Regions from separate parts of the Homo sapiens genome. Here region 2 is linked to region 1. Evidence: promoter capture Hi-C in 16 types of primary human blood cells and fetal thymus (Javierre and others, 2016). All regions are on one chromosome and are shown on one strand. Each heading gives the region's core, a stretch centred on a gene start or on the middle of the fragment in contact. The rest is flanking DNA. Distances are from core to core; before and after follow the strand shown.

Evidence for each region. The method cuts DNA at HindIII sites, captures the fragments that hold promoters and counts their contacts. A CHiCAGO score of 5 or more calls a contact.
Region 2: a contact is called between a fragment that was not itself captured here and the fragment with the promoter of CPA6 in region 1, in 1 of 17 cell types (M1 macrophages). The highest score is 6.9, in M1 macrophages.

Annotation. Positions count from the first base shown.
Region 1 is chr8:67,744,691-67,749,026 of GRCh38, forward strand. CPA6 (carboxypeptidase A6) reads right to left here and starts at 1,670. Exons shown (of 11, transcript NM_020361.5): 1 at 1,324-1,670. The coding sequence starts at 1,439. RefSeq lists an enhancer at 1,496-1,996. The HindIII fragment of the contact is 5,003 bases long and covers 1-1,839 here.
Region 2 is chr8:67,508,349-67,512,335 of GRCh38, forward strand. It overlaps CPA6 (carboxypeptidase A6), which reads right to left. Exons shown (of 11, transcript NM_020361.5): 4 at 3,193-3,307; 5 at 1,169-1,270. Among named protein-coding and RNA genes, the nearest start is that of ARFGEF1-DT, 170 kb to the left of the region's middle. RefSeq lists an enhancer at 3,962-3,987. The HindIII fragment of the contact is 572 bases long and covers 2,201-2,772 here.

The sequences.
Region 1 (4,336 bases), core at 420-2,919:
TAAACATGAGCTTCTTTTTTCCAGATCTCTAAAGGGGTCACAAATTATCGGAGGTAAAGTTGAGATCTTGTATGTCCAGGCCAAAAGGCAGCCCTGGGATGTTAACTCCTTTCCGTTCCTCCCAGAAATACTGGGGTGGAAAAATCCGTGATCATATTGCCATCTATAGCCCCTACCTCAGCCAACACCTCCATCTCATCCTGCCTCCCCTAAAACTGAGGACATGTTTCCAAAATTTCCTCTGTAAGCACTGTATTCAGAGGAACCCTAAAGGCAGTGCCAAGATTCTTTGGGAGAGAAAGAGAAATACAATTCTCTTTTCCAGGGTCACACTTACAAATTCTCTTTTACACTATTTCTAAAAAGAACAACTTGGTTTTAAGACACTGTACACTACCTTGTCATGATCCAGATCTACATGAAAACTTTTCTCAGGTGGTGATTATTGAATGATAGTAGCCTATTTAAAAATATGTAAGACACTGAGTTTACTCCTCTGTAAAAAGGAATTGAACTAGAGGAAGTATTTAAGGTTTTTCCAGATCTAAAGTGCAGGCAAGCCATAATTTCCAGATTCTAAGAACGACCCCCTGCATATGTGAGCAAATCACATGCTGTCTATACCACAGCAAGCCTTCAGGATAATAAGAATGTGCATAGTAACACACGGCTTCCAGCCCTCTGCCTCCTGAAGAAAGGCATATAGAAAGCATGCTTACCTACGGAGGGGGGACAAAACTGATTGTTTTACTCCTATGTTTTTCCTTCAGAAAAACTATCCATAATTTTACAGTTGACTACTTTTATTCTGCTTATTTTGAGTTGAATCATTTGCATTGCTCATATTTAAAAATCTAATAACCACTCTACAGACTAATAAGCACAGACAAAAAAAAAATCACACTCAGTTCTTAATCACTGATGAATTTCAACCCACCGCTCCTACATACAATTGTAAAGAAAGGCTTAGTTTTCAGGTCATAAATCATGTAGGACAACAGCATCCCCAAGCATCAACCAAGGCAAACACTGTAAATACTGACCATGGCTACTCCAAAGACAGAATCCCATTCAACCCTGGGTCCACAGCTAAGGTTGGCACATGATAAAAAGTATAAAAAGCCAGGTTGGAGCCCACCACATTCTCTCAGTGAGCTAAAGCCAAGAGCAGAGAGCTGTGAGTACATTTTATATAGAGGACCGTGAAAGTGTGCAGATTCACTCAGAGACCCCCAAATCAGAAAAAGTGAGGCACACTCTGGAGCAAACCAGCCCCCAGATCCAAATCAAAGCTGTGTAGGGCATGAATGTCGCTCCACTTACCCAGCATAGCGGTTGTTATAAAGGTGGCTGTGCCCCGGTTGCAGAATCTTCAAAAAGAGCCAGCAAAGAGGCAGGAAAGCAGCTGCCTGGCCCCTGCGCTTCCCGAGACACTTCATAGTGTTAAGAAGAGAGGAGTTGAAAGTTACTTAAGCAGCCACCCGAGGCTGGAGGTGGCTCACAGCACCCTCTACACACCGCACAGGTTCTCCGGGAAGGGGGTGGGCGAGGAAGGTTGAGAGTGAGCAAAATGTGACACTTCTCTCCAGCTACAAGGGAAAAAAAAAGTTCAGGCAGCTGAGGAAGGGAAGTTGCTATTACGACTTGGTCTTGGGACAAGCAGCAGCAGCAGCAGCAGCAGCTGAGCCTGATCTTTAATCAGGCTCCCCTAGAAAGGGCTGGGCCTCCCTCGTGCTGACTCACGGCAGGGGTTCACTGGGTGCTGCTTCCTTTGGGTGACTCCTCTCTGCTTTTGGTTTGTTTGCTTTCCCAACTTGAGGCCTCTAACTTTTCTGTGCAAGCTTTCTTTCTCTATCTTCTTCAGCATGAGGATCCTACCTAATTGCAAATGATTTGTCTGATGGGCTAAACAAGCAGACATGGATTATTCCAAGCTTAATGTTTTTTTGATCTCCCATGACAGATTCCTAAACGGATTCCACCTAATGAAATGCACAATGAACAATCATGATGAGAACGTGCACGGGGGTACCTATAGCACCCAGATCCGAACAGCTGGCTTCAGTTCACTGCTCCTGACTTACAGGAGTGGTCAGTGGCTTTATTGGGCTTCAGGGAGATCTTGGTACTCATTCTGCATCAGCAGCACCCAGACCTGCTGCTGTTTCAGAGGTTCTCGTGGGGAATAGGAGGCCTTCGAGTGCTTTGCCACCTTGGCTGTACATTTGGAATCATTTAGGGAGCCAGACCTTGAAAATAGAAACCGTGGTGGTGGGATCAGTGGTTTAAAAAGCTCCTTAGGTGATTCCAATATTCAACCACCATGCTGGTCTGGAGCAGGGCTTCTCAGAGCTCCACATGCATAGAAGTCACCTGGGGATCTCATTAAACTGCAGCTCTGACGTAGGTTGGAACAGGGGCCTAAGAGTTTTTATTTTTCTTTTTTGAGACAGAGTTTCGCTCTTGTTGCCCAGGCTGGATGGAGTGCCAAGTCCCCATCTCGGCTCACTGCAACCTCCGCCTCCCAGGTTCAAGCGATTCTCCTGCCTCAGCCTCCTGAGTAGCTCGGATTACAGGTGCCTACCACCACGCCCAGCTAATTTTTGTATTTTTAGTAGAGACGAGGTTTCCCCATGTCGGTCAGGCTGGTCTTGAACTCGTGACCTCAGGCAATCTGCTTGTCTCGGCCTTGCGAAGTGCTGGGATTACAGGTGTGAGCCACCACGCCTGGCCGAGTCTGCATTTCTAAAGAAGCTTCCAGGTGATGCTGGTGCCACTGGCTCTTCAGCCACACTTGGAGTAGCAAGACTTCACTTTAGAATGAGGTCTGCTTTTTCTTCCAAGCAAACCTTGGAGAAAACCATTTCCTTCTCTTTTTTCCCATGTTGATGATGAAAGCTTTTTAAAATTATTATTTGCATCCACTTGCTCCTATTCCAATACGCCACAAAACCCATTACAGGGGATGTGCCTCGCCCTATTAAATAAGCATAGGCACCTAGGGTGCCTCCTGTTACCTTTCATGCCCAGTCCTGGTTGTGCTCTAAAACAGAGAGTGAGCCACTATTTCCTCATCACACTCACAAAACTTTTCAGGCTTCCTGGAGAGTCATAGCCAAGAACTCCTGTACCCTCTAATACTATAGCCAGAGTCCCTGTTAGAAGAGAGAGCACCCAATCTTTCCCATCTTCTCTACCTGGGGAGTTGAACCAAAACTCCTTTGACAGATTCAATGTCAGGTTCATGAAACAGCTGAAATGGTTTTCATTTGAAATGATGCTCTGAATTTTTCTGCAACTTTCTCAGCATCAGTTTGGTTAATGCCTCCTCTGTGTCCCTCACAAATCCTGGCATGTCCTCTACTGTAGGAATTACCACATCAAATTTCTTGTCTGGTTTCCTCATGAGGCTGCTTTCTCCTTGAATACAGAACTGTATCCTTTTGGTCTTCCTGTGCACTTCCTTATACCTCCTCGAGGGAATACAATGTTTCCTGAAGGAGTGATCAACGATGTCTGTTGGATGAACGATGAACCAGGGAAGAAATTCATTTAACAAACATTAACATAGATGCTTCTGTGTCCAGATAGAGGAGAGAGCACCTTGGGAGCAGAGAACACTATGGGTGCTTTTGGAGAGTGGAAGTTCCCCGGGTGATCATGTCTGGTTTCGTTTCTTTTTTATGTTGCCTTCTTTCCTGACTTCCTGGCCTTGTACTTTTGTCTTCCTAAACTGGTCAGGCTGCTCTGCAAGACTCACAGCAGTACTCACAGGCCTTTTAGATGAGCCCAGGAAAGCCAATGATCTGTGGAAATAAGAGGTTACTGTGTAAATAAAACACTTCATCTCTTTGCATTTCGCTATGTCAGAACAATGTATAAATCTGTCATATTATATCACAACATTAAACTAGGAATGTTCAGTCTCTGACTGAGAATTAAACTCATCCTCAAATCATTCTGAAGGATTGGATCCCGCAAGCATGTTCGGCAGAGGCTCTCCAGACTCTGAGACCAAAGGAATCATTTCCTGGACCATCAAAAATGCCAGAAACTCCGGTGACATCCTGTAACCTTCCTAAAAATTTCAGATCAAAGAGAGGTTCTCAAACAATAGAAGCCATACCTAGCAATCATTCTCTGTTTTACTAAGGACCAGGTTATCTGATCAAACTTCTCTTGGAGTAGATAAGCTCCCATAAAATGAGAGATAAATGGAGTCCATTTAGCAAATGGGAGGAGGAGGGAACAGTTTTATAGATGAATTCAAAGATAAAAGTTCCATTTTTAAGGCACTGAGAGGGAGTGAATTATTAAACCAGCTAGGGATTTGGAG
Region 2 (3,987 bases), core at 1,237-3,736, 240 kb before region 1:
GGGATGCCATTCTGAATCTGAGGTGCTTTTCTGAATATCCAGGGAAGAGTGTCAAGCAGGCAATGGTGGGTGAATTTAAGGTTCCAGAGGGTGGACTGCAATGGATACAGAGGTCTGGGATGACTATTGAAATTATGGGCTAGATGTGCCTGTCTAGAGAGTGTCTGTGGTATGAAAGTAAGGCTGAGGATAGATTCTCAGGGATTACCTGAACCTAAGGAAAGGATAAGGGGAAAGGAGGCAGTGAGTGAGACCCAGATGGTCAGAGAGACAGGAGGAGAATCAATTAGGAGTGGTTGCTGGCCTTGGAAAGAAGTTTTAGAAGAGTTGTAGGGGCAAAGGCTGGTGAGTCAAAGTCTGAATGATAGGAGAGGAAGTAGAGATGATGATTAGAGGTAAGTCTTTTTAGAAGTTTGGCTGAGAAAGAATAGAGAGCTATAGGTCAGTAGACAGAAGAGAATGCAGGGTCAAGGGATGAATGAGAATAATACATAGCTTCTGCATTAGTTAGTTCTCATGTCGCTATAAAGAACTACCTGAAACTGGGTAGTTATAAATAAAAGAGGTTTAATTGGCTCACAGTTCCGTAGGCTGTACAGGAAGCATGGCTGGGGAGGCCTCAGGAAACTTAGAGTCATGGCAGAAGGAGGAGAGGAAGGAGGCACAGCTTACATGGTGGAGCAGGAGGAAGAGAGCGAAGGGGGAAGTGCTACACACTTTTAAACAACCAGATCTCATGAGAACTCACTATCACAAGAACAGCAAGGGGGAAATCTGCCTTCATGATTCAATCACCTCCCACCAGGTTCCTCCCACAACTTTGGAAATTACAATTTGAAGTGAGATTTGGGTGGGGACACAGACCCAAACCATAGCAGCTTCTTATACATTTAAATAGTTTTGCATTGGTTCACCTCAGGCAGCACCAACTCACAAATACTTCGCATCAATAACTGAAAATGTTGGCAAAAGTATTCTCTGAAATATCCAATGGCAAAAATGAAATATGGTTCAGAAACCTAAGGGAAAGTATTTCTGAGATTATCAGATGATGTTAAATATGAGACTCTATAAAAGATCATTTCATTTCTTTTCCCATAGGTTAAAGTTGAAAAAGATGGATATTTGGTAAACATTATGTATTTACACAGCAATTGCTTATTTTTACCTTTAAAATAAAAAGAGATCTTCCCTCATATGATCTTCCAATAGAGAACATGTGAATGAGGCCTGAGTGAGTTTTATTCAGATGATGCATCCAATTTTGAATCTAAGAGCAAATAAATAAAAACTATGTTAGACTCTCTCAAAATAATGGAGCTTTTAGAGAACAAAAGGAAACAAAAAGACAACAGTAGTTCTCCGAATTCAAGGAGTGCACATGGAATATAAAATTGAACAAAAAACCTACTTCTTATTTTTAATTTTCTTTGGGATACTTAAAATTACATTTAATTTTCTGCCTTTACAGATAGTAGCTTATGTCTTTATATAGTTCTTCCATTAAAGCATACCTTCTACTACCATATATCATTAATATACGGGTAACAGATTTTTATAAAAAATTGATGTGTTCTAGTTTTTTTGAAAATCAGAATTTATTTCTATTTTCCACAAGTATTTAAGAGGTAAAGAAATAAATCAACTTTAGGAAAACTGTCCAAACTACTTGAAAGTGTTTCTTAAAGTCCCATATATTACAATTTGCCACTGAAAGAAAATGCTAAGAAAAAGGCATTATCTTTTTCCATTTAAAGGTTCTTTTACTGAGCTACATATCAGAGGGCAAACTCTGAATAATTTCTCCAGTGATAGTGATACATTTGCATTGATCCATTCATATACACTTATCTGTCATCAGGAAAAGATACATTTGAATGAATAAGGTACTTCATTCCTGACTTAAAAGCCTTATAAGGTGTAAAAAAACAACACAAAAGTGTCCTACCATTTTATGGTATAAAAGGATCAGTGCTGAAAAAATAGCTAAATATATTCAGGAAAGTACCCATATATTCTTTTCTTTCTATTCTTATTTAATCTAATGAGCAGGATATATGTGTGTGTGTGTGTGTGTGTGTATACACATACATTATGCATATCTATATTATATTTGTAAAATTTGACTGTTTTCTAGTGCATGTTAACAGTACTTCTGTGTGCAAAGTTATCTAAAACCTTTCTATTGCTTCTAATTTTAAGCTTCCAAAACATGTTTAGACATGAAATATGTGGAGATAATTTTGAAAGGAGAGTTGTTATCAAGAGAACCAAAAACCGTCTTAAGAATAGAGCAGCATCTCATTTATTTTATGTCTGGCATTCCTTTGTTCAATTCAGAGGAAGCATGGAAAATGTATGATTCATTCATTTATTCCTCTGTCAACAACTATGTATTTGGAGGTCACTGTTTGCCTGCCACTGGAGTTACAGCGGTGAATAAGAAAGAAGTGGCCTGCGCTCATGGAACTTGTAGCTTATTAGAGGTGAAAGGCATTAATCAAATACTCACATAATTACATAATTAAAAACTGTGATAGGTATCACATCCTTGTGCTATGGGGGCATGTAATTCACTAGGTGTTGGTGGAGGAGGGGTTTAATCCAATCTGGGAGAATAGGAACAGCTACCTTTTTGCTTAAGCTGAGATTTGCAGAACAACAACCTGTCCAGGTGAATAGTAAAGGATGTGACAGTGTGGATGAGGTGGCTGTCAGTTCTCCAGGTAGGATAAAAAAGCATGCTCAAAGGTGCAGAGATGCCCCAAATGAAGCTTTGCCTTTGAGAGGTCTCAACTTTGCAGAGGGTACAAGTAAGGTCCACTTTATTCATCATTTCCTCAAACTCTGGTTAGCTTTATGTTTCTTGGCTTGTTAGTGAAGGCCATTATAGCGATAATTATAGCAACATTTCCTCACTCTTCCATTGTGCTTCCTATGTCCTATGTAAAAGTGGTATGGGTAAAGCAAATGAAATTAAAATTATTTTGATACTTCTTATATACCATCAAAGACTTAATAGAAGAGATAAGGTGCCTGGGCCATGTAAAAGCTACATATATTCTTCACATAGTACCTTCTCTGTCTTTATGCTTCTCCCCTAGAAGCATAAAACACATAATTTTCTCCCTTAGACCTAAATGATAAAGATGACTCTGTGAAAAACCAGAAAAAGCTCTTTTGATTACATACTTCTTCTAAGGAGTGATAAACTTCATAATTATATCCAGAGAGGGATCTTCGGTTTCTCTGGGTGTGCAAGCTGCTTCCCTTCTCCAGTGTTTTCTGAAGATCTTCTATGAGGACCCTGAATTTGGAATGACAGACATGATGAAAAGTAAATTGAGATATTGCAAAAATCAGGCAACACCCAGAAAAAATCATATGCATCTATGTAAAGAAAGACTGTGGTGATCAATATTCCTAAAAATACCAAATGTTGGGAAAATGTTATTTTTCAGGAAATGAAAACTGTTAAATAAGTGGTATAATGAATTTAACATGTAAAATTATAGGCAGATATCCTCAAGTGATAGTAGTAGTAACAATAGCTACTGCTGATTTGCAGCTGCAACAACCGAATGATGACTACGAGCACTTAGATTTACTGAGTACTACTTACCTACCAGCAGCCAGGCACTGTGCTGTGTCTTTTATGTACATAATCTTAGCTAATAGCCCTATAGTCTATGTGGTAGATTCTCTTGTTATTGGTATTTATAAAATGGGGAAACTGAGTCTCAAAAGGGTTAAGAACTCACCAATATCCCTCTACTGGTCAGTGCCAAGCCAGAATTTGAACTTGGAAGGTGAACCCAAATTCCAATCTTGAGATTCTAAGTCCAGGGTCACTTCATGAAAACTGAGCCTAGGCTTCTCTTCCATGCCCTTACCACTTTCTTTTTCCTGCTGCTTCTTCCTGCACACATCCCTTCCATCACCAAGAGACTATGCTCATGTCACTACCCAGCACCCCTGACCCAAGAC